Linked DNA regions of Homo sapiens: regions 1 and 2 are each linked to region 3. The links are contacts of gene promoters, found by promoter capture Hi-C in blood cells and fetal thymus (Javierre and others, 2016). All regions are on one chromosome and are shown on one strand. Each heading gives the region's core, a stretch centred on a gene start or on the middle of the fragment in contact. The rest is flanking DNA. Distances are from core to core; before and after follow the strand shown. Region 1 holds the start of S100A2 (S100 calcium binding protein A2). Region 2 holds the start of SHC1 (SHC adaptor protein 1). Region 3 holds the start of TPM3 (tropomyosin 3).

Region 1 (4,460 bases), core at 726-3,225, 630 kb after region 3:
CTAAGTACACACGAAAAGGGCAAAAGGGGCGCTTTGTACAGGACAGAACAGGTAGACACTGAATCCGGTTGGGCCCTGGGAAGGCTCCCTGCAGTGGCCTTTGAAGGGGGGGTTGGATTTCAGCAGGATAGAGGGCATGGGCATGTGTGGGCACGTTCTGAACAGAGGGGTCAGCGCAAGCCGAGGGTCTTGGCCACACTAGTTGCATGTGCCGGTGTGTTTAAGGGACACGCAGCAGCAGGCCGAGTCTGGAGCGCCTCACTGCCAGGCTTTTTAAAAATTTTTAATTTTAATTTAATTTTATTTTATTTTTACTTTAAGTTCTGGCATACATGTGCAGAATGTGGTTTGTTACATAGGTATACATGTGCCATGGTGGTTTGCTGCACCTATCAACCCATCATCTAGGTTTTAAGCCCCGCATGCATCAGGTATTAGTCCTAATGCTCTCCCTCCCCTTGCCCCCATCCTTCTCCCCGCAACTGCCCACAGGCCCTGGTATGTGGTGTTCCCTTCCCTGTGTCCATATGTTCTCATTGTTCAACTCCCACTTATGAGTGAGAACATACCGCCTGGCTTTAAGGGACAGCCATGGGGATGCACTGCAGTTTCTGAGCAGGGAAGGCCCTGTGGAGGCCCTTAGTTAAAAGGAAAGAATGGCTGTGAAAATCGATGCATTGCGCTCCCTTGTCCCTCACCCTCAGTGTGAAGGGTTTTTATTCCGAGTTCTACTTGAAGTAGGCCTCGATGGGAAGACAAGTAGCATGAGGGGTTCAAGTACTGAGGGGAGCAAGGGACACTCGGTGGCTGTGCCAAGGTGTAGAAGAGGACACTGGGGGCCCCAAGGCCTGACTTCATGTACACTGCTCAGGCTGGCCCCCAAGTCACACGGTGACCGCTAGGAAGGGACCAGCCTGTTCTCAGTCTGATCCTCCTGCCATGTCATTATCCAAAGCTCCTCCTGGCAGGGCCTGTTTGGGGTCTCTGTGCCAGTGCTTTCCCTGCCAGGCTGGGCTGGGGCTTCCACCTACTGCTCTGGGACTGCTGCTGCCCTGGCCCTGGGGGAGGAGGGTGTGCCGCTGAGTCACTGCCTGGGCATCTGGGCCTGGAACCTCGGGTGAGTCACTTAGGGCTGAGGTAGAGGGGCTGGGGGAGGGGAAGAAGCTACTCGACAGCTGGAGCAGGGAGGGGAGCTGGGGCCACAGGAAGGGCGGTGCCCTGATGCCCAGACGGGCCGGGATAGACAAAGGGCCAAGGAGGAAGGGGCCCTGGGAGGGGGCAGCCCTCCCTTGGGCTGGGCTCTGAATGGCCACAGTGTTTGCCTTTCTCCGGGTCTGGGGAGGACATGTGTGTGGGGGGCAGTGAGAGAGGGCTGTGGCTGAGGGCTGTGCTTCAGGCCTGGATTCTGGCTTGGGAAGCTGTCCAGCTGGTGTTTTCAGCCTTGGGTAGGGATGTACCCCTACCCACCCACCCAGCCCTCAAGCTGGAGAAGAGGAGGCCAAAGTTTTCCTGTTCAGCCTTTAACTACTCGGGACTTCCTTATGCTCCCCACAGACTGTGGCCCAGCCCAACTGCGGCTGTGTGTAGAGCAACCCCATTTCTCACTGCTTCCCCATCCTTCCAGACACCTTCCTACACAGAGGGACCTTCCCAGGTATTTCTAAGCACACTTAGTTACCTCATTACCTCATTAAGAGGTATTCTGGTGCTGGCCATTAAAAGTCACTCCACTTCATCCATGCCCTGAAGTCAGTCCTGTCCTTCTCCTCCTGATGTCCCCCAGCTGCCTCCTCTGGCCCCCAGCTTCCTAAGGGTGGCCCCAGGTTGCTTCTCTCTCACACACACGGGCGCATGTATGTACACGAGCACTGGACCATGAAGTCTCAGCGTGTGCTCACAGCCTCTCACACAGGAGTGGGCTGTGACTCACAGGCATGTCATGAGAATGAGGCCTGGCACCAGTCTCCAGGCCCCAGAGCAGGGGTTGCCTCCCCTCACCCCGGTCCAGGATGCCCAGTCCCCACGACACCTCCCACTTCCCACTGTGGCCTGGGTGGGCTCAGGGGCTGCCCTTGACCTGGCCTAGAGCCCTCCCCCAGCTGGTGGTGGAGCTGGCACTCTCTGGGAGGGAGGGGGCTGGGAGGGAATGAGTGGGAATGGCAAGAGGCCAGGGTTTGGTGGGATCAGGTTGAGGCAGGTTTGGTTTCCTTAAAATGCCAAGTTGGGGGCCAGTGGGGCCCACATATAAATCCTCACCCTGGGAGCCTGGCTGCCTTGCTCTCCTTCCTGGGTCTGTCTCTGCCACCTGGTCTGGTGAGTACCTCTGTCCTGCTGAGGGCAGGGTGGGGAGGATCCCCGTGGGTCTCTGTCTTTGTCTCCACAGTTCTCTCATTCCAGCTTCCCTGGTGGGATCAACCTGGGCCTCTCTGGGCCTTCCCCCTTGGAAGAACTCTCTGTGAAGTGCTGAAGTGTTGACTGAAGGGTTTTTTTTTTTTTTTTTTTTTTTTGAGATGGAGTCTCGCTCTGTCGCCCAGGCTGGAGTACAGTGGTGTGATCTCAGCTCACTGCAAACTCCCCCTCCCAGGTTCACGCCATTCTCCTGCCTCAGCCTCCCGAGTAGCTGGGACTGCAGGCGCCCACCACCATGCCCGGCTAATTTTTTTGTATTTTTAGTAGAGATGGGGTTTCACCATGTTAGCCAGGATGGTCTCGATCTCCTGATCTCGTGATCCACCCATCTCGGCCTCCCAAAGTGCTGGGATTACAGGAGTAAGCCACCGCGCCCGGCCGACTGAAGGGTTTTTCTCCAGGTTCCTCTGTGAGGTCTCAGTGCAGGGGTTGCTCTGAGGCCCTCCCCTGGATATCTCAGTCTAGGGGCCCTTCTTTGGGGGTCTAGGCCTAGGAGCAGGAGGTGTGCATGTGGGCGTTGCTGCAAAAAGAATCCTGAGATTTTTTTTTTTTTTTGCAAAGTCCTGGATTCTAGCAGGACTAAGGTGCAAGAGGCAGGGGTCTCAAGACTCTGCCTGGGTCATGGCCCCAAGCAGCAAAGCTCTGCCCCCTGCCTCGGTGAAGGCAGGGCTGGCATGATGGGCCCAGGGCATGCCCTGCCTCTGGCATAGCTCCTCTGGCCTCACCCTGAAACCTGCCTAACCTTTCCAGGCTGGTCTGAGTATTCTCAGAGGCCTTGCCGCTGAGGTCTGTCCCATCCTGATCCCAAGGCAATGAACATTTCATATCTTTAATTCTAATTCCAACAGGATCCTTCCTGGTGGAGAGAATGTTAAGTTGCCCCCACCCTATCCATGCCCCTGTCTGCCTAGAGGCTCAGGGGCCTTCAGGGTGAGGGGAGACACATTCCCCACCCTCTGGGAGCTCCTAGTCTGAGAGAGGAAACACTCCTGCCCAAGGGAGCTTCCAGTTAGATGGCAGAGAGAGATGCCTCTGGCTTCAGGAGTCCCGAGTCTAAGGAGGGAAACGACTCCTTCAGGGAGCTTCCTGCTCCTAGGCTGTAGCCATGGCTCCTGCCAGACTGCACAGGAGCCCCCATCTGCCAGCCGGTGCATGTGGCCCTGCTCCCCAGAGCCTGCGCAGATGCCATCAAAATGGGACTCTGGTCACCCTGTCATTTCCCTTCTGGCAGACACTAAAATGGGGAGCCCTGCCCTCAGGGGGGTGTCCCAAGTGCCATCAGAGGAGGCTTGGTGACTCCCAGACACAAGGGAAGCTTTAGCGTCTGCCCTCAGGGTGAGATGGAGGTATCGCCTCCGGCCTCAGGGAACCACAGTCTGAGGGGGAGATGCAGCCCCTGCCTTCCCATTCAGAGAGGGGTTTTGTGAGGTGGCTTGGGGGCATAGGGCAGAAGTGGATCCTACAGGCTGAGCTAAGGCCCCAAGAGCCTCAGCAGTGTACCCATCACCTGGCACCTCTGCAGCCACAGATCCATGATGTGCAGTTCTCTGGAGCAGGCGCTGGCTGTGCTGGTCACTACCTTCCACAAGTACTCCTGCCAAGAGGGCGACAAGTTCAAGCTGAGTAAGGGGGAAATGAAGGAACTTCTGCACAAGGAGCTGCCCAGCTTTGTGGGGGTGAGTGGCACAGGCCTGTGGGGGAGGTCCTGGTGTGAGTGTGGGGGTGCAGGTTAAATCTCTCCCCCAGTTCCGGGTGCCTGTCGATGCAGGTGCCAGGGTGGGGCCCAGCCCCCTCCCCACTTTAGCTTCATGGCTCCACTGGAGTGGAAATGAGGCCCGAGTGGGAGTGCTTAATTAATGGCTGTTTCCTGCAGCATTCCAGAGAACCATGTGCTGTGAGGGCCTTCCGAGTCCATCTGTTTAATCCTGTCATTGGAGACTTGAGAAACCAGAGCCCAGAAGGGAAAAGTGATTGTCCCAAGATCACACAGCACTGGCACGTTCTCTCTCTCTCTTTTCTTTTCTTTTTTTTTTTTTTGAGATGGAGTTTCC
Region 2 (4,244 bases), core at 54-2,553, 780 kb before region 3:
TCTCGAACTCCTGACTTCAGGTGATCCACCCGCCTCAGCCTCCCAAAGTGCTGGTATCACAGGTGTGAGCCACCGCGCCCGGTAGGAATACGTATCTTTGTTTTTTTTTTTTTGGTCACTTTCCAGCTTTGCCTGTGGCATTCTCCGGAAGAGCAGTGGCAGGAAGCCGTGGGTGGCAGGAATGGGTTTGGGACTGTTCCCTGTGTCCAGCTTCAACCCATCTTCTCCTGACACCCCTTTCTCCTGTACTTATTTTTCTCCTGTCCTTATTGACGCAGATGTGTCTTCTGATCTCTCTGTCCCTTCCTGGCCTGTAGTTTCTACTTCTCTTGGAGAACTGTTTCTTCCACCTCCTCCAGCCAGGCTCCTTCCCTGGTGTGAAGGATGCTGTGCTCTTTGGTGGGGCTTAGGGCCCTGTAAGAGGAGGGATGTGAATTGGGGTGGTTTGGAGTGGGAGTGGGGACCTGATTGCCTCATTCTCACCCTTGACAGTGTGCTGTGTTAACAAGCCCTGTGGAAAGGGGAGACAGGACAGTGCTTGGCTATGAGCCATCGGTCTTGGTGTGGTAGATGGCATACGTAGAGAACAAGCCGTGACCAGCATGTCCTCTTGTTCCCTTCTTGCCTGGTAGCTTCCTGATGTATCATCCAGGTTGAACTTTATTCCCCTTTTTTCACCAGCTTTGCTCTTCCTCTTGGCCCTGCTCTGCATCCATTGGGACCACTTACTTCCCATCCCCACTTCGCTAGCTCCAGTCCACAGCTGCTGTAGCAGAGGATGCTAATGGCCCAGGCTTACTGTATGGGGTAGCGGTTGGGGGTGGCCTGGGCTGGGGCCAGCCAGCTTTCGGGCATAGAGAGGGTGGGGGAATTCGAGTGTCCAACCAGGACAGGAAGGGAAATGCTGAGCTCTGAGATCTCCTCCCTTTTCCACCCCCAGCTGCCTCTGTTTCCTCCCTCATTCCCCTGTACTCCTGCCTGGCTTCCTGCCCCCTTTGGCCTGCGTGTGTCCGGTTTTGAGTGACCCAGACCTCCTATCTCCTTCCTTTCCGTCCCACTCTTCCATCCTTCCCTCCCACCCCCACTTTACTTCTCCCCAGATTACTAGTTGTTTGTATAGGGCAGGGGAGAGGGGCTTGGATAGCCCTACCCCCTGCTCCAGTTCGAGGTTGGGGCGGGGTGGGGGCTCAGCCCCTCTGAGCCTGTGAGTCAGCACTGTCCTCACGATTGGTCTCTCCCCTTAGCTCCCCGCCCCTGGGGAGGAGCCAGAAGCGCTGGGTCCAGCCTGTTCTCTTCTCAGCCAGAGAAGAGGCTCCACGTTGGGCGGGGATGGGGCCTGAAACTGTCTGGGTCTGAGCTGGGGAGCGGAAGCCACTTGTCCCTCTCCCTCCCCAGGACTTCTGTGACTCCTGGGCCACAGAGGTCCAACCAGGCTAAGGGCCTGGGGATACCCCCTGCCTGGCCCCCTTGCCCAAACTGGCAGGGGGGCCAGGCTGGGCAGCAGCCCCTCTTTCACCTCAACTATGGATCTCCTGCCCCCCAAGCCCAAGTACAATCCACTCCGGAATGAGTCTCTGTCATCGCTGGAGGAAGGGGCTTCTGGGTCCACCCCCCCGGAGGAGCTGCCTTCCCCATCAGCTTCATCCCTGGGGCCCATCCTGCCTCCTCTGCCTGGGGACGATAGTCCCACTACCCTGTGCTCCTTCTTCCCCCGGATGAGCAACCTGAGGCTGGCCAACCCGGCTGGGGGGCGCCCAGGGTCTAAGGGGGAGCCAGGAAGGGCAGCTGATGATGGGGAGGGGATCGTAGGGGCAGCCATGCCAGACTCAGGCCCCCTACCCCTCCTCCAGGACATGAACAAGCTGAGTGGAGGCGGCGGGCGCAGGACTCGGGTGGAAGGGGGCCAGCTTGGGGGCGAGGAGTGGACCCGCCACGGGAGCTTTGTCAATAAGCCCACGCGGGGCTGGCTGCATCCCAACGACAAAGTCATGGGACCCGGGGTTTCCTACTTGGTTCGGGTGAGTGAACATCCTCCTCTCCATTCCCCCGCAGACCCCCTCCAGTTCTAATGCTCACTCCAGCTTGGCCGGAATCTCTTTTTTCCTGCTGTTCCCCAACAACCCCGTTTCAGTGTCCTATTTCCTAAACCTTTCTCATCCCTTCCCCGATTCTGTAGCCCCTTCCCTTCCAGCTTTGCCTGGGCCCCCTTCCTTCTTTTCACTCCCCCACCCCCACCCTGGCATGCTTAGCACAATGCCCAGCATGGCAGAAGCTCTTAATAAGTGTTGGAATGAATGACTTCTTGATCTTTCCTCCATTCTCCTCCCGCTTTCTGGAGTTGTCACTCCATCCCAGCCAATGCCTGTCGGTCCCCTCCAAACTCTCTCCCCAGTGTGTGAGGTCCTTCTAGCCTGCCTTTTCTTTTTCTCCTCATTCCCTGTTGTCTTTCACCTTGGTTGTGGGATGTAGCCACGGGAAGTGGGCAGAACTTCTTCCTCTTTACTTCCCTTAGGGACCATATGGGTAAAGTCCTAGGGCCCTTTGTGAAGGGGCTGGGGTGGGGGAGCCGCTGACCTGCTGTCCTCTTCTCCCTCCCCTTAGTACATGGGTTGTGTGGAGGTCCTCCAGTCAATGCGTGCCCTGGACTTCAACACCCGGACTCAGGTCACCAGGTTAGTGGGGAGGGAGTGGATTGTGGGAGTCCTGGGATTAGTGAGGCCATGGGAAACAGAGGAGGGGAGTGGGTCACTTGGGTGCTGCTGCTGGGGGCTGATCTTTGCGTAGTAAAGGGGATTGAGAGAAAGCTGAGGTAGTGATTCCGCCTCTTACTGAAAGGAGGCCCCTTTGGCCCGGATCCTCCTTACCTATCCAGCCTTGGGAGTTGTGGGGAAGGTGGCAGAAGCAGCTGGCAGGTGGAGCTGGAGTAGAAAAGGGGGGTAGATGGAAGGTTGCTGCTGCCTTTGGGAAGGGAATGGGACATTTGGTAGCTGGAAGGGGGTGGGGCTATACCCATTGAGGCCCTAACCCAATCAGCCAGGAAGTGGCCTCTCAGTGTCATCAAATATTAAAGGCCCTTAATTCAATCCACCATGACAAAGAGCCTGGAGTGCCCTGGGAGTCTGGCCTGGCTTTCCCCTCCCCCAGCCCTGTGGCAGCCCCAGTTGAGTGGGAGGCAGGCAGGCAGGCGCTGGGTCTGAGTACCCCTCTTTCCCCAGGGAGGCCATCAGTCTGGTGTGTGAGGCTGTGCCGGGTGCTAAGGGGGCGACAAGGAGGAGAAAGGTACTTGGGGTCCTTGGGGATAGGGATGCTGCTGGGAAATGTGGAGGGGCAGTGGGGAGGCAAGTGTGGGGCATGTGGGGAGAGGGCCAGGAGGCAAAAGTGTGGTTTGCCTGTGCTGGGAACCCTCACCTTCTGAGACCCTGGGCCCTACCTTAGCCCTGTAGCCGCCCGCTCAGCTCTATCCTGGGGAGGAGTAACCTGAAATTTGCTGGAATGCCAATCACTCTCACCGTCTCCACCAGCAGCCTCAACCTCATGGCCGCAGACTGCAAACAGGTTGGTGAAGGTGGGCAGACGGACCAGAAACACTGATGGGGGTGCTAAGGGGAGATCTAGTTAGGAGGCCAAAATCTAGGAAGAGGGCTTGAGAGCAGGAGACCAGTAGGGAAGGAGGAAATGAGGATATGGGATAAGGAACCCAGAGAATGAGACTGGGGCACCAGGGTTCTGGGCCCTGAGGCTGCCTGACACATGGCATTCCCTTCCTTCTTCATCCCCTGCCCTAATTCTCAGATCATCGCCAACCACCACATGCAATCTATCTCATTTGCATCCGGCGGGGATCCGGTGAGTTGGGGAACAGAGCAAAGGCGGTGGGAGAAGAGCAAGGGGCTAGGGATTGGGAAGACATTGATTAGAGAAGTGGGGGTGCTAGGATTGTGGGGATATCTGAAAAGGACTGGGTTTTAGGGGTCAGGAGTAAAGTAGAACTGTAAAATTTTTTGACCTTCCTCCCCAGGACACAGCCGAGTATGTCGCCTATGTTGCCAAAGACCCTGTGAATCAGAGAGGTGAGGCATGGTGGGGAGCACTGGGTGGGTCTGGCTGTTTGAGGAGGTGAGTAGGACCTTTGGTCATCTGTACCCACTCTAAGTAGATCTCAGTGGGGGTTCCTGCAGAGGAAGATGAGGGCCCCTGTCTGTGCCTCCTCCCAGTGGGCTCAGCTCACTGACAGCCTCTGCTGT
Region 3 (3,842 bases), core at 1,043-3,542:
TTCTGGACATCCAAGGGTGACTTTAAGGAGGATGCCTGGAGGACATGGGGAGAAGGTGAGAAGGGTTAAGCTGGCAGAAAGGGGAAGCCAAGCATCTGCAGCACTTAAGAGCAGGACGGTGCCAGGATGGTGCCTCCTGAACGGACCTCAGTAGTCTTGTGGGGGTGATCTGGGAAGGTTAGGAGTTCTGTTGGAAAGGTAAAGCAGGGTGTACAAGTCCTCTGCCCCCACCCCGGAAAGCCTCAGGGCAGCTGGAATGGCATTGAAGAGAGCAGGTGGCAATTTTGATGAGGAGCTGCTGACACGGCTGATCCTCTGGGCGCTGGGGCCGTGACATCAGGGTGAGAAGCTCTGTGTGGGAGCTCTAGGGAACGATAGTTGCCCGGATGTGGAGCCCTGCCAGGTATTCTTCCTGGTTTAGGCCAACGTGATCCAGCAAAGGCCAGGAGCTTGTAGAGGAGGAGCTGAGGCAGGGATGACACGTAGGACAATAAGCAAGAGCTGGCTGTCTTGGGAGGTGAAGAGCAGGAGCCAGTACCCTTCCTCAAGGAGATGGCTCTCCACCTAGACATGATTGGTGCCTGGTGTCTGCTCTATTCTTTCTTTGCAACTGGAAGGAAGGCAGATGACCCCCAAAGCTCTCCTGCCTGCTTCTGTGTGATATGTTTGATATTGGGTTGTTTAATTAGGAACCAACTAAATGTCAAACATATTCTTACAGCAGCAGGTGATTCAGCACCACCCTCTTTCATACTTCAATCTCTGGGGCTCCTGTCTCTTTTACTGAACCTCTTCTCTCCAGGACCCCCCCAAAAGTCCAGTAGCTGCAACCTATGTGCATTTCAATCTTAACCTAAGAGGGCTGGTGTGGGAATGGGAGAGAGTTGGAATTTGAGGATAGAATCTTTCTATTTCTTGTCCCCTTATACTAGAAGGGACATTTCTTTGCCTTTTCTTGTCCTCGTATTTTTCTCCCCCTTATTCACTTGCCCACCCCCCCCCCATTTTCCACTCCTTCCTCTCCCTGTTCCCTAACCCCTTTCCCTGGCTAATCTCCAGAGAAAGGAGACTTGGTTTCTCCTCTCTCTGTCGAGAGTCAGCTGATGGTCTATCTGCCTATCTACCTCTAGTGACTGGAAGCTCTCAATAGTGGACTCCAGCTCTGCTCTACCCACTGGCCTGGTGGGTGTCTCCGTTCCCCCATTGCTGGGGCTTAGCATTAACTCTCAGTATCCTGACATAAATGACTAACTAGAGCCATTTATATTTGTCCAATATATCTGGTCACCTTGAACAGTGCCCACCTCTCCCTTGGCATATTTTCAGGTGTATGGTGCCAGTGGACTGGTATCCTTGCCACCTGTTAGTAACAAGGCTCCCAATGGAAGAATAAACATGGTCTGGAACTAAACTGGAAAGAATAGAGCTGATAATGATGATTACGATGATGTGGTGAGTGGCAGCGTTGGGGAGAATTAAGAAGGGAGAAGATAAAGGGAAGAAGAGGAGAGAGCCACACAGACCAAAGTCTGTGTGGGTACAACAGTTCTATTTTAAGATTACTGTGGGAAAACAAAGGGTATGATCCTGTCTGGATTGTTCTGACCCTCCCCTGTTTCTCTCCCCACCCCACTTGAAGCTCTGGGATAGCCTTCAAGGATAGGGTTGGAGATTCCAACCCTACCTCTTACTCTACTCTTGTGGCTCTTGGTGGGGAGGAAAAACGTCTCCCTGCCAATCGGAGACTCCCAGAATAGCACAGCAATTTGATCTGGGGATCTGGGAGAATTGTTAAGGATCATGAGTGACCTCCCCTCTTCCCTGTGCCCAAGCTCCTTGAATACCAGGAATCAAAAGCTAAAACTCAACTAACGGAGTTTGACCAGCATTCAACACAGTCTGGGGGAGAGTGAAACGGGAAGCTGAAAGGCAACCAGGACCCCCTGGATGCAAACTGCCAACCTAGAATTGCCAAAGTACACTTCTCTATTTCAATGTTCTTCCCTCCCCTCTTCCTCTTCTTTTAAAACATCCATAGAGCTGCCCAGAATGAGTGGAAAGTTTCAGGGTCAGGGAGAACCTCTTCCCTCCCCCACTTTCCATTGTCTAAAATCAGCCTCAGCTGTTGCTAGATATTTTTTTTGCTGGTGATGTCAGTTCATCAAAGCGTCTCACCCTGTGTTCCCCCAGGAGAACAATGATGGGGTGGAGGGAGCTGGAAAGACCATATTAGGAACAAAAGGTGGAGCTATGAGCACAGATAAAGACTCAAGTCTGGGGACCTCCTGGTCACTCAGGCAGCAGCCCCTTCTTTCTTGCCCCAGTCTCCAGTTCTCCAGTGTTCACAGGTGAGCCTACCAACAGCCACTGCTCATGATGGAGGCCATCAAGAAAAAGATGCAGATGCTGAAGTTAGACAAGGAGAATGCTCTGGATCGGGCAGAGCAAGCTGAAGCTGAGCAGAAGCAGGCAGAAGAAAGAAGTAAACAGGTAGGCACTGGCATTGATCTCTCTCATCTGCTAGTGAACAAGACTGTGAAATGGAAGGGAGTTTTCATGGGAAAGACAGTGACTACTGGTGTCACCTCCTTTTTGGGGGTGGGATGGACTCCCCAGCCTCACTGGAGGAGCAGAGGATATCTAACATATCTGTCTCAGACTGCCTTTGTGACCTTGGGAAAGTCAGTGAGCCACAGTATGTCTGCTGAATTTAAGTAGAAATGGACCATGTTTTGGAAGAACCCTTGACTTCTAGAGGAAAAGGTAAGAGTTCTAGAGGGAAAGAGCATCTCTTTTCACTCAAATAGCATCACGGGCATCTACACTTTAGATATTTATCATCCAGGGGTCTTGGATGAAAACCCAGGATGGCTTGGTCATCTTAGGATCAGAGATTACAGGGTCACAGGCCAAGCTACGGCATAACTCCTGAGGCAGTGGGCTGGAAGTGGCTGGGGAGAAAGTGTGTCTCACTAGGGATGGTAACATGGAGGTTACACTCAGGGCTCCAAGAGCCCAGGGTCCAACCCTGCATTGTTGTGTTTGTGTGTTTTTGTGTGTGACTCTCTGGGCTCCTATAGCTGGAGGATGAGCTGGCAGCCATGCAGAAGAAGCTGAAAGGGACAGAGGATGAGCTGGACAAGTATTCTGAAGCTTTGAAGGATGCCCAGGAGAAGCTGGAACTGGCAGAGAAGAAGGCTGCTGATGTGAGTATTAGAGAGATGGAGGATGGGTTTAATCTACACATATAGATCTTTATGTTAATGTATGACGAAATTCCAAACACACTTGTGGGTTCATGGAACACAGACATATATACTCACATACATTTTTGCATATAACCACATGCTGGTATATTCTCATAATGGCATGTATTTTCTTTCTTAAAGACATCTCCAACATGTTAAAAGTTTTTTTTTAATACATGTAAAGGTCTCATTTATCTCCTATCACCAACCCAGGAATTTAATTATCTTTCCCAGGACCTGGACAAAGAGAGGGGACTCTAAGTTCAGAATGCTGTCACTTATCCTACCTCCTCCCCCATGCCACATTCTTAGCTTTTATGTCCAAGTCTTGGCATGTGGATATGTGTATTAATAGGGAACCTCTCATCTCTCAACTGTCCAACAAAACCAGCTCGGATTTCACAATGGGAAATGGAGGTCACACTGACCCTGGCCATATATGGGTTTATTTATCTTGGCCAATGCAGGCATTTGCCTTTATGCCATGGAGATGCCATATGAAGCATTGCTCCTAGGGCAGCAGAGAGATCCCTACAGTGACAGAGTATAATAGAAACTAAGAAAGAATCTTAGGGGGTAAAGGTATCACCACCA

What was found. Contacts are between HindIII fragments. The CHiCAGO score rates a contact against its expected background, and 5 or more counts as called.
Region 1: a contact is called between the fragment with the promoter of S100A2 here and the fragment with the promoter of TPM3 in region 3, in 2 of 17 cell types (naive B cells and erythroblasts). The highest score is 7.4, in naive B cells.
Region 2: a contact is called between the fragment with the promoter of SHC1 here and the fragment with the promoter of TPM3 in region 3, in 2 of 17 cell types (M0 macrophages and erythroblasts). The highest score is 6.4, in M0 macrophages.

The regions. Positions count from the first base shown.
Region 1 is chr1:153,563,359-153,567,818 of GRCh38, reverse strand. S100A2 (S100 calcium binding protein A2) reads left to right here and starts at 1,975. Exons shown (of 3, transcript NM_005978.4): 1 at 1,975-2,313; 2 at 3,932-4,085. The coding sequence starts at 3,942. RefSeq lists enhancers at 814-1,053, 751-1,950, 1,924-1,983, 2,103-2,860, 2,861-3,618 and 1 more. The HindIII fragment of the contact is 6,475 bases long and covers 1-3,726 here.
Region 2 is chr1:154,967,806-154,972,049 of GRCh38, reverse strand. It overlaps SHC1 (SHC adaptor protein 1), which reads left to right and starts at 1,303. Exons shown (of 12, transcript NM_001130040.2): 1 at 1,303-2,018; 2 at 2,602-2,672; 3 at 3,216-3,279; 4 at 3,436-3,555; 5 at 3,793-3,846; 6 at 4,019-4,070. The coding sequence starts at 1,524. RefSeq lists enhancers at 1,425-1,975, 1,976-2,526. The HindIII fragment of the contact is 11,130 bases long and covers 1-4,244 here.
Region 3 is chr1:154,190,550-154,194,391 of GRCh38, reverse strand. It overlaps TPM3 (tropomyosin 3), which reads left to right and starts at 2,292. Exons shown (of 10, transcript NM_152263.4): 1 at 2,292-2,490; 2 at 3,081-3,206. The coding sequence starts at 2,374. MIR190B (microRNA 190b) reads left to right here and starts at 649; the gene lies at 649-727. The HindIII fragment of the contact is 3,875 bases long and covers 1-3,155 here.